Regions from separate parts of the Homo sapiens genome. Here regions 1 and 2 are each linked to region 3. Evidence: promoter capture Hi-C in 16 types of primary human blood cells and fetal thymus (Javierre and others, 2016). All regions are on one chromosome and are shown on one strand. Each heading gives the region's core, a stretch centred on a gene start or on the middle of the fragment in contact. The rest is flanking DNA. Distances are from core to core; before and after follow the strand shown.

Region 1 (4,100 bases), core at 178-2,677, 460 kb after region 3:
TCACCAGGGATCTCTGTTTCGCCCCACATGACAGCAAGCTGTCACCGAGGATTCTCTTTCTTTACTCTTTGTGCATCTCAATCCTTTTCTTCCTGCTTCCATGACTTGTTCCCAGCTACTTCACGGGCAGGTGTTAGGTTCTAACTGAGGTCCGAGGGGAGTCAGTGGGGTGGCAGGTAGCTGGAAAAACATTCGAGGAATTGTAGACAGTTTCAACATGGCTTTTACCCTCTCTCTGGCACAAGCGAGCCTAGGCATGAGCTGTGGGCACGAGCTGTATGTACATTCTCTCCCTGGGCATGAGCCATATGTACAGTGTCAGCAGGGTAATTATACCTTTTACAGGCAATAGTGACTCCAAGCCAAGCATGAGCTCACATGGGTGATCACCTAATGCACCTTACGTGGCGTGGTTACATAATGTGCCTGACATGGCATGGTTAAATACTGTGTGGAGTTGTGCACCTGCACTCCAAACCTGCTGAGTTATGCTGCACCAGAAGGCTTCCTCAGACTACTCCTGACTAAAGCACAGCCATCTCCCTTACAGCAGGCTGAGACACCCTTACCTTTCTAATTCTCAGCTTCTGGATATACTGCTGTGTAGAACTGCACATGCTCAAGGACTCAATAAGTAACCATGAAACATGAGCACAATTTGCTTTCCAAAAGAATGGCTGCAACAGTGATTCATTTCAGTTATTCCTCAAACTCAGGGATGGTAGCTTATAAAACAAAAAATAATAAACTTTGGATACTTGGGCCCCACCCAGAATTAGCATCTCTGGGAGTAAGGAATTTGATTTTTTCTTTAAGGAGGTTTTGTAGAATAGCCAACACTGAGGGCTAGACTAGATGGTGTTTCTCAAGTGTGCCTGGTCAGGAGAATTAGCTGGGTAGCATATTAAGTCCACCAAGTCCCAGCCTTCCTCTGGAGATCCAAGTTTAATAGGTCTGGATGGGCCAGGCTCAGTGGCTCACACCTGTAATCCTAGCACTTTGGGAGGCTGAGGCAGGAGAATCGCTTGAACCCAGAAGGTGGAGGTTGCAGTGAGCCAAGGTTGCACCACTGCACTCCAGCCTGGGTGATAGAGTGAGACTCTGTCTCAAAAAAAAAAAAAAAAAAGTCTAGATGGGCCTATCAATAGATTTGGAAGCTTAACAGGATCCCCTGGTGATTCTTACAATTGAGCAGGCTTGGGAAGCACTGGGTATATCTGGGTTTCCCAAACTTCTCTTGTATAAGAATTACTTGGTGTTGGCCGGGCACGGTGGCTCATGCTTGTAATCCCAGCACTCTGGGAGGCTGAGGCAGGTGGATCACGAGGTCAGAATTTTGAGACCATCCTGGCTAACACCGTGAAACCCCGTCTCTACTAAAAAAATTAGCCGGGTGTGGTGGCACGGGCCTGTAGTCTCAGCTACTCGGGAGGCTGAGGCAGGAGAATCGCTTGAACCTGGGAGGCAGAGGTTGCAGTGAACCGAGATCATGCCACTGTACTCCAGCCTGGGCAACAGAGACTCCATCTCAAAAAAAGAAAGAAGAATTACCTGGTGTTCTATTTGAAAGCACAGATTCCTTTGCCCCCATCCAGATAAACAGAATGAGACTTCCTGGCTTTGAGGTCTGGCAATCTATTTATTTAACAAAGACTTCCACTTGATTCTTATTATCTGAGAAATGGCAACAAAGCTTTGTTGATTGTCAACTTTGTCTTGCCCATAGCATCATCAGGGAACTTTTGTGTGTGTGGTAAAATACACAAACATAGCATTTACCATTAGTGACATATAATCTGTTCTAATACGTTCAGAATATACAGCCATCACCACTGTCTAGTTCCAGAACACTTTCATCTCTCATCTGGGAACTTCTAAAACATACAGATGCCCAGGCTGTACCCCAACTGAATAAATGAGAATCCCTGTGGTGGAACCCACACATTGGGACTCCTTAAGGCATTCCAGTTGATTACAATGTACAGTCAAGTTTGGGACCACTCAGGATTCCTGCCCTCCAGAAAGCCTTGTTAATGCATCCCATGGGGGACTCTCGTGCTGCTACTCTGCAGTCCATTAAGTGCAACCTCACATGGCTCTATGCCATTCTGGCATTCTGGTTTCTTTTCTTTTCTTTCCTCCCTCCTTCTCTCCCTCTTTTCTTTTCTCTTTTCTTTTCTTTTCTTTTCTTTTCTTTCTTTCTTTCTTTCTTTCTTTCTTTCTTTCTTTCTTTCTTTCTTTCTTTCTTTTCTTTCTCTTTCTCTCTCTCTTTCTTTCTTAGAAAAGACATCTATATGAGTGAATTAACCCTTTATCTTTCTTTTTTTAGAAAAGACATCTATAGGCCAGGCACAGTGGCTCATGCCTGTAATCCCAGCACTTTGGGAGGCCGAGGTGGGAGGATCATGAGGTCAGGAGATCGAGACCATCCTGGCTAACATGGTGAAACCCTGTCTCTACTAAAAATACAAAAACAAAATTAGCCGGGAGTTGTGGTGGGCACCTGTAGTCCTAGCTACTCAGGAGGCTAAGGAAGGAGAATGGCATGAACCCAGGAAGTGGAGCTTGCAGTGAGCCGAGATCGCACCACTGCACTTCAGCCTGGGTGACAGAGCAAGACTCCGTCTCAAAAAAAAAAAAAAAAAAAAAGAAAAGAAAAGAAAAGAAAAGACATCTATATGAGTGAATTAACCCTTTATAGATGAGTGAATTAACCCTATATATTTTAACCCTTTATCAGACATATGATTTGCAAATATTTTCTCTCATTGTATAGGTTACCTTTTCATTCTTTTTATGTATGACATATAAAGATGCTCAATATCACTAATCATTAGGAAAACGCAAATCAAAACCACAATGAGATAGCACCTCCATACCCACTAGGATGATTACTTTAACATTTTTCAAAAAAAAAAAAACAGAAGATAAGTGTTGGTGAGAATGTGGAGAAATTGGAATCCTTATGCATTGCCAGTGGAAATGTAAAATGGTGCAGTTGCTATGGGAAACATACTATATGACAGTTCCTCAAAAACTATTTTTCTAATTAAAAATAGAACTTCCAAATATCCAGGAATTCCACTTATGGGCATAAGGAATTTAAAAACAGGATCTCAAAGAGGTATTAATATTTGTATACCCATATTCATAGCAGCATTATTCACAAGCATCAAAAGTTGGTAATAACCCAAATGTCCATCAGCAGATGAATGGATAAACAAAATGTGGTATAGTCTGTGCATGCAATGGAATATTGTTTCAACTTTAAAAAGAAAGGAAATTCTGGGCCGGGCACGGTAGCTCACACCTGTAATCCCAGCACTTTGGGAGGCCGAGGCAGGCAAATCACGAGGTCAGGAGTTTGAGACCAGCCTGGCCAATATGGTGAAACCCATCTCTACTAAAAACACAAAAATTAGCCGGGCATGGTGGCGTGCGCCTATAGTCCCAGCTACTCGAGAGGCTGAGGCAGGAGAATCACTTGAGCCTGGGAGGTGGAGGTTGCAGCAAGTGGAGATCACGCCACTGCACTCCAGCCTGGGCAACAGAGCGAGACTCCATTTCAAAAAAATAAATAAATAAACATAAATATATAAATAAATAAATAAAAAGAAAGGAAATTCTGACACATGCTACAACATGGGTGAAGCCTTAGAACATTGTGCTAAGTTAAACAAGCCAGTCACAAAAGGATAAATACTGTATGATCCTACTTGTATGATGTACCTAGAGTGATCAAATTCATAGAGACAGAAGGTAGAATAGTGGTTGCCAAGGACTGGGGGAGGGAAGGGAATTGGGCGTTAGTGTCTAATGGGTACAGAATTTCAGTTTTGCAAGCTGATAAGAGTTTTGGAGATGAACAGTGGTGATGGCTGTACAATGATGTGAATTTATTTAATGCCACCGAACTGTACACTTAAAATGGGGAAGATGGCAAATTTTATGTTGTATATATTTTATTACAATTTAAAAATTTTTAATAATATTTAAAAATGAGAAAAAAAGGTTGTTGCAATAATCTAGGTAAGAAATGCCAAGAGTCTGACCTGAGGAAGTATCAGTGGAGATGGGAGGAAGAGACACACTTTAAGTAT
Region 2 (4,350 bases), core at 1,710-4,209, 480 kb after region 3:
GAAAAAATGCTCATCATCACTGGCCATCAGAGAAATGCAAATCAAAACCACAACGAGATACCATCTCACACCAGTTAGAATGGCAATCATTAAAAAGTCAGGAAACAACAGGTGCTGGAGAGGATGTGGAGAAGTAGGAACACTATTACACTGTTGGTGGGACTGTAAACTAGTTCAACCATTGTGGAAGTCAGTGTGGCCATTCCTCAGGGATCTAGAACTAGAAATACCATTTGACCCAGCCATCCCATTACTGGGTATATACCCAAAGGATTATAAATCATGCTGCTATAAAGACACATGCACACGTATGTTTATTGTGGCACTATTCACAATAGCAAAGACTTGGAACCAACCTAAATGTCCAACAATGATAGACTGGATTAAGAAAATGTGGCACATATACACCATGGAATACTATGCAGCCATAAAAAATGATGAGTTCATGTCCTTTGTAGGGACATGGATGAAGCTGGAAACCATCATTCTCAGCAAACTATCACAAGGACAAAAAACCAAACACCGCATGTTCTCACTCATAGGTGGGAACTGAACAATGAGAACACATGGACACAGGAAGGGGAACATCACACACCGGGGACTGTTGTGGGGTTGGGGGAGGGGGGAGGGATAGCATTAGGAGATATAGCTAATGCTAAATGACAAGTTAATGGGTGCAGCACACCAACATGGCACATGTATACATATGTAACAAACCTGCATGTTGTGCACATGTACCCTAAAACTTAAAGTATAATAATTTTTAAAAAAAAGAAATTGCAGATAATTTGAATACATGAATAAATTTTCTGTAAATTATGCCCCCCCCCCAAAAAAAAAAAGTTGGAATCAGGAATATTACCACCATAATCAGGGCTTAGAGAACTGTGAATAAGGCAGTTGAGACCCAAGTTATCTGGATTCCTGGCACCAGACAGGACAGAGCCCTTTTGTGAGGATCACAGTATAGGCAGGAAGCATTGGGTTTCTTCCCTGCTTCCCTCATTTTGTGTAACTGGAAGTGAACTGTTACATTCAACGTCCATTGTTGAGAACAGACGTCCTCCTTTAATATTTAATGAAAACCTATACATTACATAATAGTGTATCCTTATCTATAAAACAAGGGCACATTGATCTATAAAGTAAAGCTTAACAACAAATGCCAAAGACTTTTGCTTTTTTAAAAAAAAAAACTAATTTCTAGACAGTAAGGAATTGCTAAGAAAAACAAAACATGCTACACTGATTGGGGTATGTCAAAGCAACATAGGAGCCAACTGAAAGAGCTCCCAACAACTAAAGCAGAACAATGTGGGCAACAGGTAGTACTGGATTATAACATAAATCCACAGTATATGATATGAGTTCATACTGATAAAAATGGTTACATAGGAGAAAAAAGACAACTCTCCCAAAAGAATTCCAAATAATTCATATAGATACTTGGCCCTCAAGGAGATAGAACATACACCTCCACTCCTTAAGTGTGGGCTTTGCATGGTGACTTCCTAGGAGTACAGCATGGAAAAGGCAGTGGGGGTGAGTTTATGGTGAAGTCTTTCAAACACGACCTCAGCCAGGTAAGAGGTGAGAATCAGTGATAAATTATGCTTATGTACCCTTTGTAGCATATGATGAAAACAACGCTTTGCCTCTGTGGTCTTCCTCCCCAAAACCCATAACCCTAGTCTAACATTAGACAAATCCCAATAGAGGGCACCTTACAAAATACTTGATGGTACTCCTCCAATTTGTCAAGGTCATCCAAGGAGAAGAGAAGTCTGAGAAACTGACAAAGCCCAAAGGAGCCTGGTGAGACATGGCAACTAACAGTCATGTGGGATCCCGGATGGGATCCTAAAACAAAGGACATTAGGGAAAACAGCCAGGAAATCTAAACAAGCTATGGACTTAATAGCAGTGTATCGATATGTCAATAACTGTGATGGTTAATATTGAGCATCAACTTGGATTGAAGGTATTGTACTTTTCCTGGGTGTCTGTGAGGGTGTTGCTAAAGGAGATTAACACTTGAGTCAGTGGACTGGGAAAGGCAGACCCACCCTCAATCTGCGTGGGCACAATCTAATCAGCGGCCAGTGCAGCCAAAATGAAAGCAGGCAAAAGAACATGGGAAGACTAGACTGGCCCAGTCTCCCACCTCCACCTTTCTCCTGTGCTGGATGTGTCCTCCCCTGGAATATCAGACTCCCAAGTTTTTCAGCTTTGGGACTCTTGGACCTTTGACTATAGAGTGAAGGCTGCACTATTGGTTTTCCTACTTTTGAGGTTTTGAGACTCGGACTGGCTTCCTTGCTCCTCAGCTTGCAGAGGGCCTACCATGGGACTTTACCTTGTGATCGTGTGGGTCAACACTCCTTAATAAACTCCCCTTTATACATACATATATCCTATTAGTTCTGTCCTCTAGAAAACCCCGCTTAATACAATAGAGGAAACTGGGTGGTGGGTTTATGGGACTTCTACAATGTCCAGTATTTTCTTTTTGTCTTCAATATTTTTATAAGTCTAAAATTGTGCTACAAAATTTGCCTATTTAAAAATCTTTAAAAATTAGTTTCTACAGGTATACATAGGGAATACAAATGCAAAAAAAAATCCAAAGACACATCAAACCAATGCTTTTATGGTAATTCTTGGCAGCACTGTATGAGTTACTTATGTGGAAGACATTCATATATTACTACCAAAATAACCTGACATATTGAGGAGAGGGTAAAAGAAAATGAGAATCAGCTGTGGCTATCTTATCAGCAGAAAAGTTTTATTCCTTTTGAGGACAAACAATTAAACCACATCCAAGGTCTTAACTTACAGACAGAAACCAAAGTAGCCATTTAAAGCGTTAGATATCGGATACAAGACATACACTGGGGAGAATGCTTCACCATCTGAAGCTCACACCACAATGGCCCAGTGGACAGCTGTGCACTCTGCTTGTGCTTAAGTGCCTGGGTGTGGCTGAGGGGAAGGCGTGTCTGCAGAACAGAAGAACAGCTGTGTTTCACAAGTACTGAAGCATTTTAGACTGCATGGGGGGGTATATATTTTCATGTTGAAGGGAAGAGGGGAAATCAGCAAAGTCCCTCCCACAGAGCATTAGGCTGCCTTGCAGAGAGCCACGGCAGAGAAGCGGACTTCTCCTTGCTCACGCTCGGTGAATTCTCTGCAGACCTTGGCAGCGTCCTGGAAAGGAGAAATGTCATTAAAATCCAAACAGCAAGAGCTCAAAATGAAAGTCACATAGGGAAAGGCTCCAAGGTCTATTAATGCTCAAAGTTCACCCTCATCAACTTTAATTCCATCATTAATTTGAAAACCAGGGCTTAAAGCAAAAAATCAGGTGATGGGAAAGACAAGGTTACATCATGGATTTGACTTATCACTTCCACCAAATGGTTTTGTGCTTCTCTCACTTTGTACCTGGTTTTGGAAAAGTTAAAAAAAACAAAAACAAAAAAACCCAACAACAAAAACACAACTATGAACGTTATTTTCCTCAAATCTAAAGATTGGAAATTGATCTTTCTTCCATAAGGTGGCATAAGTGAAAAGTTGTAACTCAGAAATTCCTGGAATAAAGAAAATTGTCTTTCAAATAAACATTTTAAAAAACAGCCTTAACGTGGCCGGGCGCAGTGGCTCACGCCTGTAATCCCAGCACTTTGGGAGGCTGAGGCAGGCGGATCACGAGGCTGGGAGATAGAGACCATCCTGGCCAACATGGTGAAACCACGTCTCTACTAAAAATACAAAAAAAATTAGCCGGGCATGATGGCGGGCATCTGCAGTCACAGCTACTCTGAGAGGCTAAGGCAGGAGAATGGCGTGAACCCAGGAGGCGGAGCTTGCAGTGAGGCGAGATCGCGCCACTACACTCCAGCCTGGGCGACAGAGCGAGACTCCGTCTCAGAAAACAAACAAACAAACAAAAAAAAAAACAGCCTTAACGTTTACCTGATATTCTAGGTACAGACAAGCATGGAACCTTAGAGATTGATGGTGAAGTGACATGCGTTACTACTTCTAAGATCTAGATGACAAAGACTGGTAACAGGAAACTGATCCCAGTGTTATTTACCAACTTCTAGGATATAATTGTTTTGGGATCAAAAATATTACTCTGTTCAATCTGTAAAAAAGCCCAGTGGAAAGATAGCTCTGTAAACCATAGTATAAGACCCTGAAGGAGAAAAGGAATGCTCTATGATACAGAATGGTAATGAAACATCACTCCTAAAATTTAGAAATCACCAACTCAATGAGTTTGGGCCAGACACAGCTCAGGCCTGCAATCTCAGCACTTTGGGAAGCTGAGGCAGCGGA
Region 3 (4,607 bases), core at 1,674-4,173:
ATCCCTTAGCTTCTCCTTTTGACACCCTCTGATGCCCCGTCAGCATCCAGGTCCCCTGAGGTGCCCACTGAACTCCCCACCCCAACACTCCCTTTCGCTCAGGAAGTGCCTCTGTGCACCACCTAAATTTCCAAGTTCCACATCTTCACCTAAGAGCAATCCTCAGAAACTGGCAACATGAACCCCTCTACTCCGAGCTCCCAGCACTTTTTAGGTCCTAGTCTCGCCTCCTCCCCAAAAGCTAAAGGGGCCTGGGAACTGTCAGCAAACTAGGACCCACGGCGAAATTGCCCTGCCCTGCACTCGACTAGGGCGTAGGGATCAGGCCCAGGGCGCACAGCGGTGGCGCGGCACCCGGCCGTAGCTTCCGGAGTAGAGCGCGCGCTCTGCACCACGCGGAGACACACCCCAGGTGCAGTAAGGCTCTAGTGCCAAGCGGGGTGTGAACCTGGTTACTGTCAAAAATAGGCCTTGGAGCCGAAATTCATCACCTCCTGACCACCCCTGGTCACTCTCTTCTGCAGGGAAACGCGCTTAAACCCTACAGCAGAGGAGCGGGCTGGCGGTGGACACCCCGGCCTGTGCTCCCTACATCCACATCTCCTGAGTGCAGGCCTCGGCGGCAGAGTTGCGTTCAGAAAACCAGCAAGCACATCCCCCAACCCGAAATCCGAGGGAACGAAGAAACTTGGACGATCTCAGCCTTGTGCTTGACAACCTATCCCCCACCTCCCTTAAGTGGTTGGGGAGGGGGATGAGCGTGGGGGAAATTCCATGTGTGGAGTCCAAAGGGATACAGCCACCTCCCGGCCCAAATGCAAATTCATATTCATGAGAGCGGGATAAATAAAGACAAATCTCCGCTGTAATAGCACTTGGATTCGCATCCGTCTTTGCTGGCCTTTAGGTTTAGGGGACTGAAGACAGATGTTTGCATCCCTTTTCTCCTCTTGTCTGGTGACCATAAAGAAAAACCATTTAGAGCGTTGCAATTTGTTTCCCGCCGCAGTAAAACCTTGTATACATTTATTTTCATTTCACCCCCGTGCACAAAAAAGTGCACACTGGTCACCAAGGGCCCTTCTTTATCAAATACGCATTGTACAACATACAACTGCAATAAAACTATCAGCCCTCCCCATAAAACTATCACCAGGATCCTCGGTAGGTCCGGCTCCCTGCACTCCCGACTTTAGCGCTTCCTCACGCCCCGAGGATTTGCAACCACCTGAAACGAGCCTGAAACTCACCCTGCAAAGAAGCACAAGGCTGGGGGACCGCTGTCCCCGTTTAATCCATTACTGCGTCCGCGGCAGTTTAGTGCGCAATAAAACACGGTGGCAGGGGAGAGCGGGAGCCCATCCACTCCCCGGCACTAGCATCGAATTAAACCACTTAGTTTGGCAAACACTGAACGCCTAAATGCCCCTATAAAGACTTTATGAGTTTGTTACTTTAATTACTGACTTGTTACAGAGCACATAAAGGGGGTAATGAATGCAATAAAACTAATTATCTACACATTTAATTCATATAAAATATCCAGGGTTTGTTTACACCACACGGCGATTCAGCTAAGCTTTCCCCCTCTTGTCCACCGAGAGGAAGGATTTAATGAAATAGTTTCCCTTATTCTGCTAGGGCCTAACAAACCAAATGAAAATTACCCTCCGCTTAAATCATGGGGCCACTGAAGTCCACAAATCACTGCTCGCTCCTTTGTCTGTGCCTCGCTGCCAGCACCCAAAAGCCTGAGGAATCGGACAAGAAAGGTGCCCGACCTGGAGCCCTTGCCTGGGCATTTACATGGCAAGAATTTCCCTCACTACAGTCCGCAAACCTAAAAGGCAAACAGACACAATCCCCGGGTCTGTGGAGGATTGTGGGCACCTGAAAAAAAAAAAGAGGCGAGAAAGAGGGAGAGCGCCCGAAAGAGATGAAAGAGGAGATACATTTGGGTACACTTCATGCTCGCTTGCCAGTTATGGTGTAATTAAAACGAACAACCTCACAGAAACTCAAACCAACCAAGGCTTGCGCTAATGCAAACAGACAGAACTGAGAGCAAAGAACACAACGGTCGAGAATCCAGATGTTTCACATTCGAAAGCTTTCCTCAGATTTTTTTATTATTATTTTTAAGTGGCTGTATACCCTGAGTCTCTTGAAAGCACATTTAGCTGCAAGAAGAAATGCAATTTATAAGATGCTTTCTCTCTGTCTCTCTTTTTTTTAACCCCCTCTACCAGGTGTATTTTTAAAGAAATCCGCTTATCGTTCACATAAACCCCCTTGGCCCACTTACTCTATGTTACAGGGCGCCTGAGTCTTGCCAATGTCCCAGTCCTTTATAACATTTCATGCACTTCGGGGGGTAGGCTTGTTGTTAAATTGAGCGTGTAACACTCTTACAAAACAGGTTTTCTATGACATCAAGGTTTCTTCTCCCTAACCGAGGGGGAAAAAAAGAAGAGGACGAAGAAGGGGGAAAACACACACACTATCTCAATTTATGCCTAAGGTATATGATCAGTTAAAAAGGCTTAAAAGCTCGGGGAAATTGGATCAGGGAGAATCGTCACCCAACTTTCATTATTTCCAAGTAGTGTGATTGAATTAAAGGGCAGGGAGCTGGTTAGAAGGGAGGATCAGGGGCTCGGTGCGTAATGGTGTGGTATTAAATTCTAATTAGAGATGCAGGAATCAATGATAGGGAGGTTGGACAGCTCAGTTCCCCAGTGCCAGCCCAATAGACGGATGAGTTATTGTCATGTAAAAAGCGCCAGCAATAAGACCAACCGCTTTGCTATTGTCCAAGTGGAAAGAGCCAAGTTTATTATGAGGACTATATGCTCTAGAGACCTCAGACAAGGCATCTCATAGGAGGCTTTTTCATAAAACTAGGCTCTGCTGGTAGTAAGGAGGCCAGTTTGGAGGCAGGCGTTGAGCTGTGCACATCTCCCCACTCCAGCCACCTTCTCCATATCCATCTTTTATTTCATTTTTCCACTTGGCTGAGCCATCCAGAACCTTTTCAATGTATAAAATGGAATATTCTTACCTCAATTCCTCTGCCTACGAGTCCTGTATGGCTGGGATGGACACCTCGAGCCTGGCTTCAGCCTATGCTGACTTCAGTTCCTGCAGCCAGGCCAGTGGCTTCCAGTATAACCCGATAAGGACCACTTTTGGGGCCACGTCCGGCTGCCCTTCCCTCACGCCGGGATCCTGCAGCCTGGGCACCCTCAGGGACCACCAGAGCAGTCCGTACGCCGCAGGTAAGGACCTTCAGCTTTCTCAGCGGAGGAAGCCGCCTTTCCGCCCGTATATAGGAAGCCTTGATTGCATTTGAAAATGGAAATGTGTTTAGTATTTACCAAACGAAATTTGCTTACACAAATGAAAGAATTTATCACGTTAGAAGCGATTGCAGGGAGGGGTAATTCACTTACAGGGTTACACTATCCTAGTCACACCCGAACCGCCAACAAAATTATCTTAAGCTGCCAAAATGATAGGCATAATTTATTTACTTTGCGATGAGACGTAAAGCTTAGAAAATAATTAAATAACAAAGAGTAAAGCTCATTACTGGCAGTGTCTCTTTTTTTAAGAACCGACAGCGGCTCACACCTCTTTGGCTGGTCATTTTTATGATTATTTCTTTAATTTATTATTATTTTTTTGCAGCTCTTTCCCCCAACTTTTGAGCCGGGTCAACTTTCTGAGAATTGAAAAGTTCCCAAAGTGGGACTGTTTGGTAACTTCTTTCCTGGCTCCCTGATATTCCGACTGATGTTTTTGGATTTTTTTCCTCTCTGGTTTTTTCCTGCTGAAAGCACTATCTCAAGTCCGTCACATCGCGCTGTTTCAATCCACCCAAAGGCGCTTGTGCCAGAAAGGACTCCGCCAAGCCCGAAGTTTGAGCCCAGGTTTCCGCAGATAACAAATTTCCTCGGTTTCTTCCCGCAGCTTCTCTCGGCAACTCTCTCGCGCGGGTGTAGGTAGCGGCTGCCGTATGACCTGACCTTGGAGTCCTCACATTCTAGCTCCACGGCCGGCGAGCTGCCGGCTGATTTGCTCACTTTCTGTCTCCTCTGTCATACTCTAGTTCCTTACAAACTCTTCACGGACCACGGCGGCCTCAACGAGAAGCGCAAGCAGCGGCGCATCCGCACCACTTTCACCAGTGCCCAGCTCAAAGAGCTGGAAAGGGTCTTCGCGGAGACTCACTACCCCGACATCTACACTCGGGAGGAGCTGGCCCTGAAGATCGACCTCACAGAGGCGCGAGTCCAGGTACGCGCGCCTGGAAACCGACCCCGCTCCGCCGCACTGGTCCGGGGAGGTGTGGGGTGAGGGGCGGCTGGTGAAATTCGAAGTCCTGGAGCCTCGAGTGAGAAGGACCTAGGGCCCCATGGCCGATCAGAAATACTGGATTTGGTGTGGCTGTGCGTTCGAGAGAGGCTTAGAGCGCACGCTCTTGGCATTTTATTTACAGTTGCGAAGTGTTTCCCACCCGAGCAGAGACATGGGGGGCCTTGGGACGTGGATGAGCGATGCAATTTCGGGGACAGGAAGTGCCTGTGGTGGAAGGTGTGCAGACT

Evidence for each region. The method cuts DNA at HindIII sites, captures the fragments that hold promoters and counts their contacts. A CHiCAGO score of 5 or more calls a contact.
Region 1: a fragment that was not itself captured here is called in contact with the fragment with the promoter of PHOX2B in region 3 in 2 of 17 cell types (monocytes and M2 macrophages); the score reaches 5.9 in monocytes.
Region 2: a contact is called between a fragment that was not itself captured here and the fragment with the promoter of PHOX2B in region 3, in 2 of 17 cell types (M2 macrophages and endothelial precursors). The highest score is 6.7, in M2 macrophages.

The regions. Positions count from the first base shown.
Region 1 is chr4:41,291,009-41,295,108 of GRCh38, reverse strand. No RefSeq gene overlaps it. Among named protein-coding and RNA genes, the nearest start is that of UCHL1, 36 kb to the right of the region's middle. The HindIII fragment of the contact is 536 bases long and covers 1,160-1,695 here.
Region 2 is chr4:41,266,847-41,271,196 of GRCh38, reverse strand. It overlaps UCHL1 (ubiquitin C-terminal hydrolase L1), which reads right to left. Exons shown (of 9, transcript NM_004181.5): 9 at 2,742-3,210. The coding sequence ends at 3,124. Among named protein-coding and RNA genes, the nearest start is that of UCHL1, 12 kb to the right of the region's middle. The HindIII fragment of the contact is 3,612 bases long and covers 1,154-4,350 here.
Region 3 is chr4:41,747,041-41,751,647 of GRCh38, reverse strand. It overlaps PHOX2B (paired like homeobox 2B), which reads left to right and starts at 2,923. Exons shown (of 3, transcript NM_003924.4): 1 at 2,923-3,278; 2 at 4,112-4,299. The coding sequence starts at 3,038. PHOX2B-AS1 (PHOX2B antisense RNA 1) reads right to left here and starts at 3,299. Exons shown (of 4, transcript NR_187403.1): 1 at 3,062-3,299. The HindIII fragment of the contact is 1,442 bases long and covers 2,113-3,554 here.